Regions from separate parts of the Homo sapiens genome. Here all the other regions are linked to region 3. The links are contacts of gene promoters, found by promoter capture Hi-C in blood cells and fetal thymus (Javierre and others, 2016). All regions are on one chromosome and are shown on one strand. Each heading gives the region's core, a stretch centred on a gene start or on the middle of the fragment in contact. The rest is flanking DNA. Distances are from core to core; before and after follow the strand shown. Region 1 has its middle 34 kb from the start of GABARAPL1-AS1. Region 2 has its middle 1.6 kb from the start of OLR1. Region 3 holds the start of STYK1 (serine/threonine/tyrosine kinase 1). Region 4 has its middle 31 kb from the start of KLRD1. Region 5 has its middle 16 kb from the start of GABARAPL1-AS1. Region 6 has its middle 14 kb from the start of KLRD1. Region 7 overlaps KLRD1 (killer cell lectin like receptor D1).

Evidence for each region. Contacts are between HindIII fragments. The CHiCAGO score rates a contact against its expected background, and 5 or more counts as called.
Region 1: a contact is called between a fragment that was not itself captured here and the fragment with the promoter of STYK1 in region 3, in 3 of 17 cell types (naive CD8 T cells, total CD8 T cells and neutrophils). The highest score is 8.9, in naive CD8 T cells.
Region 2: a contact is called between a fragment that was not itself captured here and the fragment with the promoter of STYK1 in region 3, in 1 of 17 cell types (naive CD8 T cells). The highest score is 5.5, in naive CD8 T cells.
Region 4: a fragment that was not itself captured here is called in contact with the fragment with the promoter of STYK1 in region 3 in 2 of 17 cell types (naive CD8 T cells and total CD8 T cells); the score reaches 6.8 in naive CD8 T cells.
Region 5: a contact is called between a fragment that was not itself captured here and the fragment with the promoter of STYK1 in region 3, in 16 of 17 cell types (naive CD8 T cells, total CD8 T cells, total CD4 T cells and 13 more). The highest score is 29.1, in naive CD8 T cells.
Region 6: a contact is called between a fragment that was not itself captured here and the fragment with the promoter of STYK1 in region 3, in 2 of 17 cell types (naive CD8 T cells and total CD8 T cells). The highest score is 10.8, in naive CD8 T cells.
Region 7: a fragment that was not itself captured here is called in contact with the fragment with the promoter of STYK1 in region 3 in 5 of 17 cell types (endothelial precursors, total CD8 T cells, naive CD8 T cells and 2 more); the score reaches 8.0 in endothelial precursors.

What each region holds. Positions count from the first base shown.
Region 1 is chr12:10,247,290-10,249,989 of GRCh38, reverse strand. It overlaps a transcript of KLRD1 not described here. Among named protein-coding and RNA genes, the nearest start is that of GABARAPL1-AS1, 34 kb to the right of the region's middle. The HindIII fragment of the contact is 6,426 bases long and covers 1-2,700 here.
Region 2 is chr12:10,172,414-10,175,113 of GRCh38, reverse strand. It overlaps a transcript of OLR1 not described here and a transcript of TMEM52B not described here. Among named protein-coding and RNA genes, the nearest start is that of OLR1, 1.6 kb to the right of the region's middle. The HindIII fragment of the contact is 1,506 bases long and covers 609-2,114 here.
Region 3 is chr12:10,672,741-10,675,440 of GRCh38, reverse strand. It overlaps STYK1 (serine/threonine/tyrosine kinase 1), which reads left to right and starts at 1,389. Exons shown (of 11, transcript NM_018423.3): 1 at 1,389-1,475. The HindIII fragment of the contact is 4,755 bases long and covers 1-2,700 here.
Region 4 is chr12:10,275,568-10,278,267 of GRCh38, reverse strand. It overlaps a transcript of KLRD1 not described here. Among named protein-coding and RNA genes, the nearest start is that of KLRD1, 31 kb to the left of the region's middle. The HindIII fragment of the contact is 3,126 bases long and covers 1-2,700 here.
Region 5 is chr12:10,229,885-10,232,584 of GRCh38, reverse strand. No RefSeq gene overlaps it. Among named protein-coding and RNA genes, the nearest start is that of GABARAPL1-AS1, 16 kb to the right of the region's middle. The HindIII fragment of the contact is 8,341 bases long and covers 1-2,700 here.
Region 6 is chr12:10,292,441-10,295,140 of GRCh38, reverse strand. It overlaps a transcript of KLRD1 not described here. Among named protein-coding and RNA genes, the nearest start is that of KLRD1, 14 kb to the left of the region's middle. The HindIII fragment of the contact is 789 bases long and covers 1,039-1,827 here.
Region 7 is chr12:10,319,073-10,321,772 of GRCh38, reverse strand. KLRD1 (killer cell lectin like receptor D1) reads right to left here. Exons shown (of 6, transcript NM_002262.5): 6 at 1-2,700. Among named protein-coding and RNA genes, the nearest start is that of KLRD1, 13 kb to the right of the region's middle. The HindIII fragment of the contact is 3,098 bases long and covers 1-2,700 here.

The DNA.
Region 1 (2,700 bases), core at 56-2,555, 430 kb after region 3:
AGGACTACTATACTCCTCACTTTGTTAGAGTTGAAAACCATAAAGCTAGAGTGATGGCAGCTCCTGCGAACTCTGATGAAACCACAAAGGAAGTCATTGGGTCAAGAAATGCATTACGAGCCACCATGGGACACTACCACCCTTCTGCTTAGCAGAGCTCAGAGTAAGGGTCCCTTCCTGTGTGAAAGGCACTGACTGCTACAGCCTCCAGGAGTCCTTCTCACTGCATATGTGTGATAAATGTGAGATTCATTATTTTGTTCTTTGTAGAAAATTAAGTATGAAATAATTTCTTACTCTTTTTTCAAGTTGTTTCAAGGATGCTTCTCAATAAATTCTTTTTTAAAAAATTGACGATTTCCCCAAGAGTTTCTCCACTGGTTGCAAACCGTATATTTAATTTTCTTGGAAGCATTTTGATATATGATAAGGGCACAAGTTTGATACCAGAGAAGGCAAGATATTAGTTTGAGTTGTGTCACTTACTATATTTATAACTTTGGTCCAGTTGAATTCCCTAATCTACTTTTTCCACATCTGTAAAATGAAGGGGATAAAAGTATCCTCATCACAAGGTTTTTCTAGGGATTGAATGAGAAAGCATTGTTAACTGTTGTTATTGTTTCTTCTGTCTTCTTTGTTTGCAATTCAATACTGTTTCTCCTTTGGTGCAGTTTTACTATTTCTCTTTCTTTCATGAAATACCTTATGTATAAAATCCTCATAATGTGGCAGAATCAAGGACTGCCTCAGTAGTTTACTGTAAGGGATGTTAGCAACTCCCCTGTCCCCTGTTAAGCCTAATTTAGAATCTCCCCCACCGGTTGGCTGATGCCAATGACTCCATGTTTGGAAATACATTTACTTTGTTTATGGGTAGAATAATAGAGGACACATTATCCGTCGTATATAGTTTATTGTATGTGAGTTTAAACCTGATATAATTATAGATGCAAATGGAATTCAAAATTGATATTTTCAAGTGTGAACATGTTAAAATCTCCATTGTAACAGAATGGTAATGATGTTCTATCTAAGCATATGATTCAAAGAAAACAAAAAGTGCAATCATCAAGCGGAAAGTATACTTATGGCCAGGCATGGTGGCTCACGCCTGTAATCCCAACACATTGGGAGGCCGAGGTGGGTGGATCACCTGAGGTCAGGAGTTCAAGACCAGCCTAGACAACATGGTGAAACCCCATCTCTACTAAAAATACAAAAAGTAGCCGGGTGTGGTGGCGGGCACCTGTAATCCCAGCTACTTGGGAGGCTGAGGCAGGAGAATCACTTGAACCCAGGAGGCGGAGGTTGCAGTGAGCCGAGATCACGCCATTGCACTCCAGCCTGGGCAACAGAGAGAGACTCTGAAAAAAAAAAAAGAAAGAAAAGAAGAAAAGAAGGGAAGGAAGGAAGGAAGGAAGGAAGGAAGGAAGGAAGGAAGGAAGGAAGGAAGGAAAAGAAAATACATTTAAATAAAACTGATTTCACACAATAAAATAAACATAAAAATAAAATATTAAGAAGTTTATTAGTGTCAATAAAGCAGACAAAACATACTTATCATTACCATAATTGTTTTCAACACAATATTGTTTTCTGTGCCATAAAGAACAATAGTCATGTACCATTTTTTTAAAAAGAGTGCCCCTCTAATGTCTCCAAGATTTTCTTTGTAGCTTCTGATGCTCATTATTTAGAGTTTTTTGATGGTGATTTCTTGATCTGTAAAAGTCTCATAGATTTTTTTTTAAAACAGGATTAGAAAAATTGTGGGGAAAAAAACAGGATCAGAGAATTTCCATTCCATCCTATGACGGTGTCTAAATGATGTGATGAGTAAAACATGCAGGACCAACAATGTACATAACTTCACTGAAGCAGTGACACTAGCACCAGTGAAAATCAAGGTCACGCATGTGCACATTGCAACTGTCTCCTGGCCAGCAGTGACTGTAAGACTTCATATATTTTGAGAGGCATGCTAATTTCAGAGACATTAAAATGTAAAAAACAATATGTATTAGTCCGTACTCATGCTGCTATAGGGACATACTCGAGACTGGGTAATTTGTAAAGGAAAGAGGTTTAATTGACTCACAGCTCTGCATGGCTGCAGAGGTCTCAATCGTGGCAGAAGGGGAAGCAAATACGTCCCTCTTCACTGGGTGGCCGGGACAGAGAAATGCCAAGTAAAGGGAGAAAAGCCCCTTATAAAACCATCAGATGTTATGAGAACTCACTCACTATCATGAGAATAGCATGGGTGCAACTGCTCCCATGATTTAATTACCTTCCCACTTGGTCCCTCCCATGACATGTGGGGATTAGGGGAACTTCAATTCAAGATGAGATTTGGTTTGGGACAGAGCCAAACTATACCACAATGTATCTTAGACTCACTAAATTAGATTAAAGAAAATAAAATATGAAAGTGAAGCAAACTCTATTATAAAAATGAATAAGTCTTAAAAAACACACAAAACACTGCATCAAGCCTAAGATGGAAAGGTATTAAATTTTCTAAAAATGTTATACAAAAATTAGTACATCTACTTACACAAAAAGTGTAAGCATATAAAATTTAACACATCTACTTGGATAAGATGTTTGAAAAAAATAAATTATAAATGTTAACCAACTAACTAAATCACATTCCAATAAATTGTTCTCATGACTTAGATGATATTAGAAATATAA
Region 2 (2,700 bases), core at 112-2,611, 500 kb after region 3:
TGAACACCAGGAGGCAGGAATAATGAGAGCCCTCTAAAATTTTTCAAATCTGTCCAGTTATCTGCCACACAAGGACTGTAGAAACTATCCCACTGATCTTTAAAAACAGGATAAACCCAAACGTCCATCAATGGATAAATAAAATGTAGAATGTGGTTTATACATACAATGGAATATTATACAGACTTTAAAAGGAACAAAATTCTGACACATGCTACCACATTGATAATTGTTGAAGACATAATGCTAAATAAAATAATTTAGATACAAAAGGACAAATATTATATGATTCCACCAGTATGAGGTGCCTAAAATAAACCAATTTATAGAAACAAAAAAATGGAACGGTGGTTTCCAAGAAAGGAGAAAGGAATTGGGATTTGTATTAGGTCTGTGCAGAGAAAGAGGATCAATACGCTGTGTACATACATAGAAATAGGTTTATTATAAGGAATTGGCTTGTATGATTATAGAGCCTGGTAATTTAAAATCTGGAGTGTGGGCTGCCAGACTCGGCCAGCGAGTGGAGAACTGGGAGAGTTGATGGCTGAGTTCCAGTCCATAGACAGCTGGGGGATTCTTTCTTATTTGGGGGAAGGTTAGAAGCTTTTTGTTCTTTAGGCCTTCAACTTTTGGATGAGGCCCACCTACATTATGCAGCGAAATCTACTTTCCTCTTCTGATTAATATGTTAATCTCATTTAAAAGCATCCTGTCTGGGAACCCCATGACCCAGTCAAGAAGACACAGAAGGCCAGCACGGTGGCTCACGCTTGTAATCCCAGCACTGTGGGAGGCTGAGGCAGGCGGATCACTTGAGGACAGGAGTTCAAGACCAGCCTGGCCAACATGGTGAAACCCTGTCTCTACTGAAAATACAAAACAATTAGCCGGGAGGGGTGGCGGGCACCTGTAATCCCAGCTACTCAGGAGGCTGAGGCAGGAGAATTGCTTGAACCCAGGAGGCGGAGGTTGCAGTGAGCCGAGATCATGCCATTGCAATCCACCCTGGGTAACAAGGGTGAAACTCCATCTCAAAAACAAACAAACAAACAAACAAACAAAACACATGAAATTCACCATCACAGGAGTTATTGCTTGGTGGGTATAGAGTTTCAGTTGGGGAAGATGAAAAGTTCTGGAGATGGATGGTGGTGATGGCTGCACAACAATGTAAATGTACTTAATGCCACTGAACAGTACACCTAAAAATGGTTGAAATGGTAAACACTTTATGTTCTATAATATTCATGGCATCCAAAATAACTGAGTCACTGTAGAAATGATAATGTGCCCTTTTCAGTGTGATATCGTTTCAGTATTTTTTAATTCTTTTTTTTTTTTTTTTTTAAAGGGAGTCTCGCTCTGTTGCCCAGGCTGGAGTACAGTGGCACAATCTCAGCTCACTGAAAATGAAAAGCATTTTCATTTTCCACCTCCCAAATAGCTGGGATTATAGGCTTGCAACCAGGCCCAGCTAACTTTTGTATTTTTAGTGGTGACAGGGTTTCAACAGGTTGGCCAGGCTGGTCTCGAACTCCTGACCTCAGTGATCCACCCCCCCCCTCAGCTTCCCAAAGTGCTGAGATTACAGGCATGAGCCACTGCACCTGGCCAACTTTTTCAATTTGTTCTCAAATACTCTGCACATAATAAAAGGAATATAGGAAACAGGGAGGAGGAGGGAAATGGAATCCTAATTAGGCTGTCAATATTGGTAATTTTTCCTAATAGTTTCCTATATGTTTTATTTATGTATTTATTTTTCCATTCTTCCTTTGTGTATTCTTTTCTTTGCACTTTTTTTTCCTGGAGTAATTTAAAGTAAATGCCAGATATCATATCATTTTGCTTATAAATACTTCCTTCAGAAGACATCTCTAATAGATATATATCTGGTTAGGAGGTTGTCAAGGGAAAATAGAAAAGTATTCTATCAGTAAATACATATAGACATACTTATGGGTCTCTCATGTAAGCGTCTTTGTGACATGAGTCAATCATGGATTTTACTGAAATACATTATTTGATGGGTAATTCAACTGTGCTGAATATTAGTACTATACTAATAATTATTATTTATTGGCTTCTTATTATGCTCCAAGTACAAAGCTTGTCATTTTTAACCAGCGTGTCATTTGAATTCCTATAGCAACGTGACATTTTTCACAAACCTAGTGTAAAAAAGCTTATTATTTTTACCCAGCATGTCATTTGAATTCCTATAACAATGTTATCAGGTAGACATTATCCCTAATTTCCAGACATGTCATTTGAATTCCTATAACAATGTTATCAGGTAGACATTATCCCTAATTTCCAGACAAAGACATAGATTCAAAGTATTAAGATTTCCCAAGATTGTAGACTAAAGGAAAGTACTGAAACTAGCTCTTTCTGCATTCAAAGTGCTCTCTGCTGCTACGTTACACTGGCACTGCATGAACTAGTAGCCCCAGATAAATTCTAAAATCACCCAGGACACACCATCGCTGGAAATGGGAGCCATATGTGATTCACCCCAAAATTCTTAGATCCATTGCCAGATAAAACAGTGAAAATCAAAAGAGAATATATCTGATTCGTAAAAGACACCATATAGAAACAGTCTGCTAATGAAATTAGCAAACAAACATTGGAATCAAATATTTTGGCCCATAATTCTGGCACATTTTTTACAAATGTAGTGTGACTTACTCT
Region 3 (2,700 bases), core at 140-2,639:
TTCATTTGGATTTGATGTATCACTTATGACATAAAGAATCTAAAGAACAACTAACTGATGAGATGTCTTCCTTTCCCCTTTTGAGGTAAAATTCACATAACATAAAATCAACCATTAGCCATTTAAAAATGAACAGTTCAGTGGCATTAAGTACAATTCATCCTGTTTTTAAAAAGCCCTGAAGGAAGTGAAAATGCCAATAGAGAAAGCTCTAGAGAACTGACATACCTCAATCTCTAAATATGCCACATTACATTGACTCAAGTTCTTTTTGCTCTAATGACTGTCAGTTTGTGTTTGGTATGCGTTCAATGCTGAATAAATTGGTCACATATTCAAGTTACCTATGACTCTTATTTCTTTAATTGAATTTGTATTAGGTGTTAATATCTAACAGAATTCCTTCAGCTATCTATTGTCTTAAGTATTTTCTATTATTTTAGTTTCCATGTGGACGGGTAACATAACTACCTTGTTCACTGTTTCCCCAGAGGAGAACCCAGGACATAATGGGATATATGTGTGTGTGTGTGTGTGTGTGTGTGTGTGCGCGCGCGCGCGCGCGCGGGCTCTAAATGAATGATCTATTACGTAATCTTGGGGTTTTAATTCTCATTAATTCCTTATAGGTTCCCCCACGTCTCCGCAGTGGTCAGTACTTTTTTTTTTCTTTTTTTTTTTTTTTTTTCTGAGACGGAGTCTTGCTCTGTCGCCCAAGCTGCAATGCAGTGGCACAATCTCGGCTCTATGCGATCTCTGCCTCCTGGGTTCAAGAGATTCTCCTGCTTCAGCCTCCTGAGTAGCTGGGATTATAGGCGCCCGCCATCACGCCTAATTTTTGTATTTTTAGTAGAGACGGGGTTTCGCCACGTTGGCCAGGCTGGTCTCGAACTGCTGACCTCAGGTGATCCACCCGCCTTGGCCTCTCAAAGTTCTGGGATTACAGGCGTAAGCCACCACTCCCGTCCCTTCAGTATTATCTTGTAACACCCCGGCAAAGCCTTCAGGTGGAGAATGTTCCTGGCGCGGAATAATCCACCTGAATGTGAATCCTGACCATTTTTAGGCGCCAATGGAGGCCGCTGCTACGGGGCCGGCCGTGAGGTGGCGCTGTTGCCCTGTATCGTGACTCCGTTTTCACCTGGACTGGAGTCACCGTGATACCTGACATCTAGCAATCACTAGAGTAGGAAATGAGTATAGATCAGCAACAAGTCCAGCCTTTACAGTTGCAGCAGAGGTTTCCTGTGGCTCGAGTGTGGCGAGTCCCGGAAACCTCGGAGCCCGCAGACTTCCCTTCGCGGGAGCCCGCCCGAACTCCATCCTTTGCCGGCAGCCACGCCCCGCAGTGGGAAGGAGGGACTGAAAAGCATTTCCTTGAGGCTGGCACACCTTGCCCTACCCAACCCTGTCATTATTTCCCCTCCGACTGGGCCGGTGCCATCGGAAACCGGAGTGACCAGAGGAGGGACACGGTAGTGAACGGGGTATGGGGGGCGGGCGCGGCGGGGAGGGTAAAGAAGGTGGGAAGGGAATGGCAGCGAGGCAGCTGGGGGAGGACTTTGCAGTTGGGGAGGGAGAAAAAGGGAAGAGGCTGGGAGCGGAACGGGTGTTTATGTGAACAAACAGAAATCACCAAGTGAATTAACCTGTGTTTCTTCGGAACCAGCATCTTGTGGGGTTTGGCTTCTGTGTTTCTATATGATAAGGGAGTAAACCTGACTCAGCAGATTTGGTGCAGAGAGAAACATGAGAAAACCCAGGAATGGGGGACCTCTGTTTATTCCTGGAGAGGGGGCCATCAGGAGAGGGGGAAGGGAAAGAATGAGGTTACAGGAATTACTTGTCAGAGGACTGCATAGCCTTTCAGACCATGGAATCGTTGCTTTCAGCTTCGGCTTCCTCATCTGCAAAGCATAAATACGGTAATTACTTTCCAGGGTTGTTGCGATATTTAAATGAGATATCAATAACCATGCTTTAAAAGTGTACAGCCTGATGTGCTATCCCTTGTTGACTGAATCTCTGTTTTCTTTCCTTCTTTTTATTTGGGGTGGGGAGTGGGGGAGGGAGTCTTGCTCTGTCACTCAGGCTGGAGTGCAATGGCGCGATCTCGGTTCACTGCAACCTCCGCCTCCCAGGTTCAAGCGATTCTCCTGCCTCAGCCTCCCAAGTAGCTGGGATTACAGGCTCCCACCACCACGGCCGGCTATTTATTTTTTTGTATTTTTAGTAGAGACGGGGTTTCACCATTTTAGCCTCTGTTTTCTTTTCAATGTCTTTTTTCCTCTTTCATTTTTCTCTATCAACCCTTCATCCCCCCTTTCTTTCTTTCATTTATGCGATTGTTGCTTCCTTCTGTAATGGGTCCTCTCCACATTGGAGTTTCTTATACCTATGAGACCACACTTCCTTCCCACTCGGTGGGAAGTAGTGGCAATAAAGGAGTCGAGTTACTGTAATGTGCAGCACAGCTCAACTGAAATACACCTGGAAACAGAACTCTGTGCTGTCTACCTGGTTTTTCCCCCTCAATGCACCGGAATCTCCACTGACAGCTAGCTAGGGGGCAGCTAGGTCTTTCAATGAGACATCATGAAGTATTTGCTTCAATGAAAATCATATACTTTTTCGTTCAGTGCCTCCATTACTGTGTGAGTTTGCTAGGGCTGCTGTAACAAGGTACCACAAACTGCATGG
Region 4 (2,700 bases), core at 131-2,630, 400 kb after region 3:
GATAAGACTGGAATAGTAATACTATCACCTAGGAAAGCGCACACAGAGTGAGGCTCAACGGACAGCTACAAGAGAGGGTCAAATATCCATTGTAGTTAATCTGCCAAAAGTGAGTAGGGGCAATACCCTGTGCAATGTGGTCTCCTCCTCCAGAAAACAATAGGATCATCTTAGGCAGGGGCCACAAGTCTGGCATGCAGTGGAAGCCTCTGCATAAGAAACAGTCCTTCACTCTCTGCCAGTCTATGATGGTCGCTGTGTTGTCATGTCCAGAATAACGATAAATCCAGGCAGCACTGGTAGAGATCAAATAGTGCACAGACTTTAAACCTTTCACAAAATTTAACCTGAAAGGAATCACAGATGTACATGTAAAATACAGATGTCCACATTCTCTGATGAGACCAGTTGGAATTAAGCTGTTGATTGAGTCTGCACTAACTGATCAATATTTTCTGTAATCTAAAACTTTTCTAAAACATAAAGTCTACTAATTTTTAAAAATCAGAGGGACTAATTGAAGTAATATCATAAAATAAATAAAAATTATAATTTCTAAATAGTATATCACAGTTAAGATTGTATTCAAATACATTTTAATTGTGATTCTCAGAATCACCTGTGAAATATTTTTATACAATTTTAGAAAAGAAATAAGTGAAGTAAAAAAATCATTTTTATATAGGCTGTTTGCATATCATAACATAATCAATCAATGGCAGAACTGAGTCCCAAATTCACAAATTCAGCTTCCAAATTCTACTCTCCTTCATTCTTTTCCACCATGAAGTGGGAAAATAATAATAAACTCAGTAAAAAAACACCACCACCTATCCAAAACCAAAATAGCAATTGATTTATTTAGGGACTAAGTTCTCCCCTATAATAAAAATTAAAATGACTATCAAATAGGGAGTTAATAACATTTGTTTATATTTTTCCCTTTTCCGCTTCCTCCTTGCTTTTCTTAGCTCAGTGAATGTATTAAAGGTCTAAATATTTCATGCAATTAGAATCAGTAGTGGGGATACAGTTAAATGGGTGAGTCTCAGTGAGTCTACAGTTCCATGTACCCTGCATGTTTGAGATAGATCAGAAACCCACCTCTACCTTTGGAATATCAAATATCTAAAAAAAAAAAAAAAAAAAAAAACTCTGTGAGGCCAACATTTGCCTTTGTATTTATTTCATTCATTCTGCTTAATTTCTTCTTCAGGCTTGACTTTTATTTTCTCATTTGTTGCTACTGCCATGCCCTAACCACACAAAACTAGACTTAATGGTGAGTCATCTGAATGATTTTGTTTCCACTTATTTCTTATTTTCCATTACATACGCCTAATTAACTGTGGCATGCAGCTAAATTAAATTTCATCATCTCTTGTCACTAAGTATGCAGAAAAGAATAATTAAAATTTTTAAAAAGAAACTTCATCTTCTCTTTTTCTGTGTCCAGATTGCATATTCTGAGGATAGAGGTCAAACTTCCTGGTGCTAATTCATATCAGGCTCTCAAATTTCACCTTGATTATCACTGGAAATTGACCATTATTTTACTTTTTTTTTTTTTTTGTCAAATTTTATGGTGGCACATGCCTGTAATCCCAGCTACTCGGGAGGCTGAGGCAGGAGAATCGCTTGAACCTGGGACGGGGAGGTTGTGGTGAGCAGAGATCATGCCATTGCACTCCAGCCTGGGCAACAAGAGCGAAACTCCGATTCAAAAGAAAAAAAGAAAAAGAAAAATTTCTTATTCTCAATACCAAGATATTTTGTTGTTATTTTCAAATTTTGATCACTGCCCTTAAACCATCTCTCTTACAGGAAGTGAGCAAAGGCCAAAAGGATAAAGATACTAAAAGGCTGTGATAAACAGAAAATGTCAAAGGCTACCCTAGAGAAATTTATAAACATTTATACCCATATACCGACCTAGTCACTAAATATCCAAACAAACAAAGCACAAGAACAGAAAACATATTATAATTTTAAATATAGATTACAAGTGTAGTGAGGTGATAATTTAAGAAATACAGAGAACATCCAAGGACTATTATTTATAATAGTCCTGAAAAGAAAGCAATTAAATGTCCATCAAAGGTAGAGTAAGTAAACTGATTGAGAGTATATCATACAAAGAAATTACATACACAAGTAAACTACAGCTGTCCACAGCAACACAGATAACTCTAATAAATACAGAATAAAACAATGCAAAAAAAGTATAGTTTCATTCTATTCACACAAATATAATTAAAATAAGCAAAAAAGCTACTAAGAATATGTGCATAAGAAGCAAGAAAATCAGAAGAATGATTAATTCTAGGAGGAAGCATTGTAATAAGGAGGATCAATGCAGGAAACACTCTGGGGTGTGGTAATATCTATCTTTACTTAACTTTTATCATTATTCATTAATCTCTACATATATGTTTTCTGTCCTTTCCTGTATGTTTGTCATATTTCAGAGGGAAAAATATTAATTGATTTATCTAATTGGTAATTTTTATTATCATAAAAGTTTATCTTAAAAAGAGTGGAGGATATACAAACGCAGTTTTGCATATTATCTCACTTGATATTAGAGGTATGACTAAAATAACATTCCATTGTAACTGTGAACTTTGAATACCTGGTTTCTCAAGTAACTCAACAATTCCCGCAACACCTAACCCTAACTACATGCTTCGGATAAGGTAA
Region 5 (2,700 bases), core at 16-2,515, 440 kb after region 3:
GTATTTACACAAACCTAGACGATATAACTACTACACACCTAGGCTATACGGTATAGCCTATTGCTCCTAGGCTACACACCCATTCAGCACATTACTGGAGTGAACAGCACAGGCTATTGGAACACAATGGTAAGTATTTGTGTATATAAACATATCTAAACATAGAAGAGGTACAGTAAAAACATGGTGTTATAATCTTATGGGATAACCATCATGTATACAGGCTGTCATTGACTGAAATATCTATATGTAGCACATGACTAGATATAAATGCATATAAAGACTATATGTATATAAATATCTACATATAAATAAAGAGAGAGATTTATTATTCTTATAGAAATTGGCTCATGGAGGCTTATGGAGTCTGAGAAACCTCACCATCTGTCTGCAAGCAGGAGAACCAGGAAAGTCAGTGGTATAATTCAATCCAAGTTTAAAGGTCTGAGACCAGGAGCTGTGGATGTCCCAGCTCATGGACAGAAAGAGGGACTCTCTACCCTCTAACTTTTGTTCGATGGAGGCCCTCAATGGATTGAGTGACACCTGCCTACATTGGTGGGAGAGGATCTTCTTTACTAGGTCTACTGATTCAAACGCTAACCGCTTCCGGAAACACCCTTACAGAAACAGCCACGGATAATGTTTCGCTACCTATCTGGGCATCCCTATAGCTCAGTCAAGTTGACACATAAACTTAACCATCACAAGCGGCTATTTCCAGAACTGTTCCCAATGTGTTGTTAAACAAAGAGCACCCAGTTGAGTCGACCACAACCCTGGCTATACATATCACTTAAGAGGCTTGTAAAAAGTAAAGATGCCATGAATTTTACATTATGTGAATTTTACCTCAATAAAAAGGAGCCTATAGCATAGGGAGGGGGCGGTGGGGGGAAAAATTAAAAAAACTAAAAGTATGGATGCCAAACCCTCCGGTGTCCTCCCCAAGAGTGATGCAGAAGTGGGGCTCTGCCATCAGACGTTTTTGGGAGCTCACCACTGATGGTCATGTGCAGTCAGGGTTGGAAAGCACTGCAGAGATTGATTTTGTTCAGTAGGATGGATAGGGATTTTAATTGAATGTAGCAATAAAGACCCAGGGTTTTTGTTTTTGTTTTTGAAGAACAAACAAACAAAACTCCCAACATTAGAGCAGTCATAAGCCGATTGTAAAAAACCAATATTATCCAACTTCAAAAAATAACAATTAAAAGAGGTCAGACGCGGTGGCTCACGCCTGTAATCCCAGCACTTTAGGAGGCCGAGGTGGGTGGAGTTTGAGGCTGGTAGTTCGAGACCAGCCTGGCCAACATGGTGAAATCCCATCTCTACTAAAAATACAAAAATTAGCCAGGTATGGTGGCAGGCGCCTGTAATCCTGGCTACTGGGGAGGCTGAGGCAGGAAAATCGCTTGACCCCAGGAGGCGGAGGTTGCAGTGAGCTGACATTGTGCCACTGCACTCCAGCCTGGGTGACAGAGTGAGACTTCATCTAAAAAAAAAAAAAAAAAAAAAACGAAAAAACCAGCCTGGCCAATATGGCAAAACCATCTCTTCTAATAATACAAAAATTAGCCAGGTATGGTGACATACGTGCCTGTAATTCCAGCTACTAGGAAGGCTGAGGCACAAGAATCACTTGAACCCCAGAGGCGGAGGTTGCAGTGAGCCAATATTGTGCCACTGCACTCCAGCTTGGGCGACAGAGTGAAACTGTGTCTCAGAAAATACATACATACATAGATAAATAAAATTTTAAAAACTCAAAGGATCATTTTTAACTTTTCCTTGGATAGGCCCCAATAAATCTGTTACAAACAAAATACCCGAATCATGGTCCCCAGGTCTTCATTCCTTGTTAGGCTGAGATATGCTGGATTGTAGACTTATTTTTATACTGATTGTTAATTTCTCTCATTCATAACACTTTATCTAGTAGTCTCAAGATTCCATTTGCATAGATAAAACTGTGTTTAAAATGCTGTTTTCTGTACAGTAAGTCCTCACTTAACATCAATAGATTCTTGGTAACTATGACTTTAGGCAAAATAACATGTAATGAGACTAATTTGATCATAGGCTAATTGATATAAACAAGAGTTACTTTCCCACAGCATGTTTCTGGTCAGAAAAGACACAACCATTTCTTTTTTCTTTTTTTTTTTTTTTTTTTTTTTGAGACAGAGTCTTACTCTGTTGCTCAGGCTAGAGTGCAGTGGCATGATCTCAGCTCACTGCAACTTCTGCCTCCCAAGTCCAAGCGATTCTCCTGCCTCGGCCTCCCAAGTAGCTGGGATTACAGGCACCCGCCACCATGCCTCGCTAATTTTTGTATTTTTAGTAGAGATGGGAGTTCACCATGTTGGCCAGGCTGGTCTCGAACTCCTGACCTCAGGTGACCCACCCGCCTCAGCCTCCCAAAGTACTGGGATTACAGGCGTGAGCCACGACACCCAGCCAAGACCCAAACATTTCTAATATTTAACATTTAAATAAATGTGAGTTATACATACATTTAAGAAAGATTAATAAAAACAAGGTAACTGTTTACCCAATTTATGGTGAATTAGTGAGTGCCACTGGTCCTAGTAGTGGCAGTGGGTTAAATCAAGGAGTAAATATTTGGCCGGGCACAGTGGCTCACGCCTGTAATCCCAGCACTTTGGGAGGCCGAGGCGGGCGGATCATGAGATCAGG
Region 6 (2,700 bases), core at 184-2,683, 380 kb after region 3:
TTGCTGTTTTAAAATAAAATATGGTATACATATTGACAAATACTAAAAGCACAAAATTTAATAATTTATGAGAGGCAGCACTCTTGTAACTACCATCCAAGTCGAGAAATAGAACATTTCCAGAATCTTCAAAAGCTCTCCTCATTTAACCTTCCAATTACTACCCTCTTTCTCTTTATAGATGTTAGCGCTGTCTTGACCTCTAACCCTGTACAGTTCAGTTTTGCCTGGTTTGATAATTTATCTTACTATAACGTATATAGTCACATAATATAAATTGTTTTGTGTCAAGCTTCATCCAAGAACTCACTTTCATGACCTTGACACTAAATAGGCAGGACACAAATTACCCTGGGCAGTGGATAAGATACACTGATTGGCTCAGTTGGGACCCAATTTGGATATCAGAGTGGGTCCAACTTCAGTCAAAACAAAATGGGGGCCGGGTGCAGTGGCTCACACCTATAATCCCAGCACTTTGGGAGGCCAAAGCAGGTGGATCATGTGAGGTCAGGAGTTTTGAGACTAGCCTGGCCAATGTGGTGAAACCCTGTCTCTACTAAAAATACAAAAAATTAGCCAGGCATGGTGGCATGGGCCTGTAGTCCCAGCTACTCAGGAGGCTGAGGCAGGAGAATTGCTTGAACCTGGGAGGCAGAGGTTGCAGTGAGCCGAGATCATGCCATTGCACTCCAGACTGGGCTATAGAGTGAGACTCCTTCTCAAAAAAACGAACAAAAAAATGGGTAGGAATGATTATCTAGAGGAAATTTTGAGGTACTAAACTTCTAGGAGGATGCACTTTGACAAACTGGTAACTCCTCTTCATACTTGCTTGTTTTTATTTTGCTTTTTGTTTTTCTTAAGATGGATCTTCCTGAATGAGTCCACCATGGATTTACATGTGCAAATTCATGTTAAAATACAGTATTTGGGAAAAGACAAGAGTAAAGAACACATATTTGGGTGCGTTGTATAGAGAAATCTTCAAGTCCATATTCATCAAGAAAGAAAGAGTAGCAATGACTTTCACAAGCTTTGATTTGGAAACAGCACATCCACCATCTCTGAATTTACCATCTTTGATGTACAGCGACCATTTATTAAGTAGGAGAGGCAGAATCAACAATGTGGCTGAGACATAAGAAGAAAAGGAAAGTGAGGATAGCTAGCGTTCATACCAAGGGAATAAAAATACTGCCTGTTAACCCCTGAGATTTTTTTTCAGTTTTTATTTTCAAATGAATATAGATTAACAAAAAAAGTTACAAAAATAGCTTAGGGACCTCCCTTGTCCCTGCTGTTGGGTTTCCCCAGTGATAATACACACACACCTCATTTTACTGCACTTCACTTTATTGTGCTTCACAGGTGTGGCATTTTTTACAAATTGAGGTTTTGTGGCAACCCTACCTCTAGCAAGTCTATCAGTGCCATTTTTTTTTTAAAGCATGTGCTCACTTCCTGTCTCTGCCTCACATCTTGGTAATTCTTGCAATATTTAAAACTTTTTTACTATTATTGCAATATCTTTTATGGTGATCTGTGATCAGTGATGTTTGATGTTACTGTTGAAATGGGTTTGTGGTGCAACAAACAATGCCCATATAACATAATGAAATTAATTGATGAATGTAAGTGTTATGACGGCTTCACTGGCCAGCGATTGTCCATCTCTCTACCTTTCCTTAGGCCTCCCAATTCCCTGAAACACAACAACACTGAAATTAGGCCAGTTAATAACATTACAATGACCTCTAAGAGTAAAAGTGAAAGGAAGAGTCACACATCTCTTACTTTAAATCAAAAGCCAGAAATGAATAAGCTTAGTGAGGAAGGCATTTTGAAAGCCCACATAGGCCGAAAGGCCTGTTGAGTCAAACATTTAGCCAAATGGTGAATGCAAAGAAAGAGTACTTGAAGAAAATCAAAATTGCTATGCCAGTGAGCATGCGAATTATGTGTATATGTGTATATATATATGGAGAAAGTTTTACTGGTCTGTATCAAAGATCAAACCAGCCACACAATGTTCCTTTAAGCCAAAGCCTAAGGCGCTAACTCTTCAATTCTATGAAGGCTGTGAGAGGTGAGAAAGCTGCAGAAAAAAAAAAAATTGGAAACTAGCAGAGGTTGCTTCTTGAGATTTAAAGAAAGAAGCCATCTAAATAATAGAAATGTACAAGGTGAAGCAGTAAGTGCTGATGAAGAAGCTACAGCAAGTTATCCAGAAGATCTAACTAAGATAATTGATAAAGGTGGCTACACTAAACAACAGATTTTGAGTGTACATGAAACAGGCTTCTGGAAAAGCCATCTAGGACTTTTATAACTAGAGAGGAAAAGTCAGTGTCTTGCTTCAAAGCTTCAAAGGACAGGCTGGCTCTCTTGTTAGGGGCTAACTGGTGACTTAAGTTGAAGCCAATGCTCATTTACCATTCCAAACAATTTAGGACCCTTAAGAATTATGCTCAGTCTACTCTACCTGTGCTCTCTATATAGAGCAACAAAGTCCAGATGGCAGCATGTCTGTTTACAACATGGTTTGCTACATATTTTAAGCCCATTGTTGAGACATAGTGCTCAGAAAAAAAGATTTCTTTAAAAATGTTATGGCTCATTGAGAATGAGCCTGGTCACCCAAGAGCTCTGATGAAGACGTACAAAGAAATTCATGTCATTTTCAAGCCTGCTAACACA
Region 7 (2,700 bases), core at 109-2,608, 350 kb after region 3:
CTGCAGTTCCTTGCTAGCTGTTTATAGGAGGCCTCAGTTCTTTGCCACATGGAACGCTTAAAAGAGTTGCTCACGACAAGGTAGCTGGCTTCCACCAAATCAGATGATATGAGAAAGGGCAACGCCAAAGACATACTGTCTTTTATAATCTAGCCTCAAAAGTGATATGCGATAACTTCTGCCTTATTCTCTTGGTCACAGTGATCAACCCTTATACAATGTAATTGATTATATCAAAAGGGTTAAATTCCAAGAAACAGGGATCATTGGGAGCATATAGGAAGCTGTTTACAAGAGTCTAATCTTTGGCCCCAAATGATTTATGTCCCTCCCACATACAAAATCCACACCAACTGCCAAATCTCATTCCGTTACAATGTCAGTTCAAAGTCCGAAATTTGTCACATCCAGGTATGAGTGAGACTCATCAGGTGAAGTTCCTTAAGTTTAGCTTCTTGAGTATCATTTTTCTCCATGTGAAGGCTTGTGAAATTAACAATACTAGAGATTTCCTTCCCTTATACACTCAACATTCGAAAGAACAAACTATAGACATCCTTGTTCAAAAGAGGGAGGGGCATGAGAATTACAAAGGAGTCACTGATGCATAATAATTTAAAATCTAGCATAGCAAATGTCGGGACTCATTTGATTAGGACTCAGTCCTATTTCTGCTTATAAAATCACTCTTCATAACTCTTGGATCCACCTTACAGGCTCTTAGTTCTGTCCTTTGAATTATTCTTACTTTTGAATAAAAGGTAGCAATTCATTGTCAATTTTCTACTGACATAGTCATCTCAAAAGTGTTTTGAGGTTTTCTATGAACTCTATTTGTAAAAACCGCACACATAAATCTCTTCAATCTTCTCTCTACCTGGAGCTTCTGCTGAGATACCTGAGGGACAATACCCTGGGGCTTCCTAGAAGCCCTATTATTTGACCTTTATAGATCTTCATCTGACTGAATTGAGGCACTACTTGTGTTCTTTCTATGATATTTACAGGAAATTTCAGTCACACCCACACCTTCTTGTTTAGAATCATGCTTTCCTGAGAGCACTCTAGATTGGATCTTTGCTCAGAATCTATTTCTCAATTTTAGCATTTTTGACATGCTAACATTTGAGAGTCCAGGAATCTCAAAACTATCAAGTTCTGTCTTCTTTTGCTCAACAGCCCTTCCATTAGCTTATGTGTGTTCTATAGCATTGTAATATAAGTAGTAGGAAGAAATCAGACAAGATATTCAACACTCTAGTTGGAAATAAGTTTAGAGCATTCTCTTAAATCATTAAGTACATTTTCTACTTTCCACAATGCTACAGACAAAAGTGTTGCTAAACTTTCTGGTACTAAATAGAAAGATTTTTACTTTCTCCAGTTTCTAATATGTTTTCACTTCCCTACTATAAGCCCATACTAGAAGGTTTCAGTCTTTCCTGTCCTTTTGGCCTCCATCCACTGCCTGTTTTCAAGCACTCCAAAATTTTAGTGGTTTTTTTTTTTCTTTATAATAGTAACTTCATTCTTGGTACCAAAATATGTATTGATTATTGCTATGTGACACGTTAATATTTAGTGACTTAAAAGAATAAAAGTTATGTCTGGGCGCAGTGGCTCACGCCTGTAATCCCAGCACTTTGGGAGGGTGAGGTAGGCAGATCACCTGAGGTCAGGAGTTCAAGACCAGCCTGACCAACATGGTGAAACCCCGTCTGTACTAAAAATACAAAAAAATTAGCCAGGAGTGGTGGTGCACACCTGTAATCCCAGCTGCTCAGGAGGCTGAGGCAGGAGAATTGCTTGAATCCAGGAGGCAGAAGTTGCAGTGAGCCGACATGGCCCCACTGCACTCCAGCCCAGGTGACAGAGTGAGACTCTGTCAAAAAAAAAAAAAAAAAAAAGAATAAACACTTTACTATTTCACACAGCTTCTGAGAGTGAGGAATCCTCGAACAGCATAGCACGATGGACCTAGCTCAGGGTCTCTCATGAGGTTGCCGTCAAGGTGTTGGCTGGGGGCTGTAATCATCTGAAGGCTTGACTAAGACTGGAGCCTATACAAGCAAAGAAGGCTCATAGCATGGCTATTGGAAATAGACTTCAGTTCCTTGCTGGCTGTGTGTAAGAGTCTTCAGTTCCTTGCCGCATGGTCCTTTCAACAGGGCTGCTCATGACATTATAACTGGTTTTCCCCAGATCAAGTAATCTGGGAGAGAGGAAAAAGGAAGTCATACTATCTTTGATGACCTATTCTCAGAAATGAAATATCATCATTTCCACTTTATTTCATTGGTCACACAGAGCAACCTTGATACAATGTGGAAAGAAATTCCACCAAGGCATGTATAGCACAAGGTGGGAATCATTGGTGAACATCTTGCAACTTGTCTATAACACATAATTTGTAGATTGTCACCCTTTAAAATGAACACAGATTGATAGTAACAGACATAACTGTTTTCATATAGCAAAATTTGTAAGTACATTTACAACTGGTAAGAAGTGACCTGGAAAAGAATAAAGCAGAGAGTAGAATTTATGGCCTTATATTCTCATCTTACATACTTGGGCACATGTTGGCAAACTATGGCCTGTGGACCAAATCTGTCTCACCATATGTTTTGTCAATAAAATTCTTTTGTAACACAGTCAAACCATTCATTTTTGTATTATTTATGTCTTCTTTAGCACCAC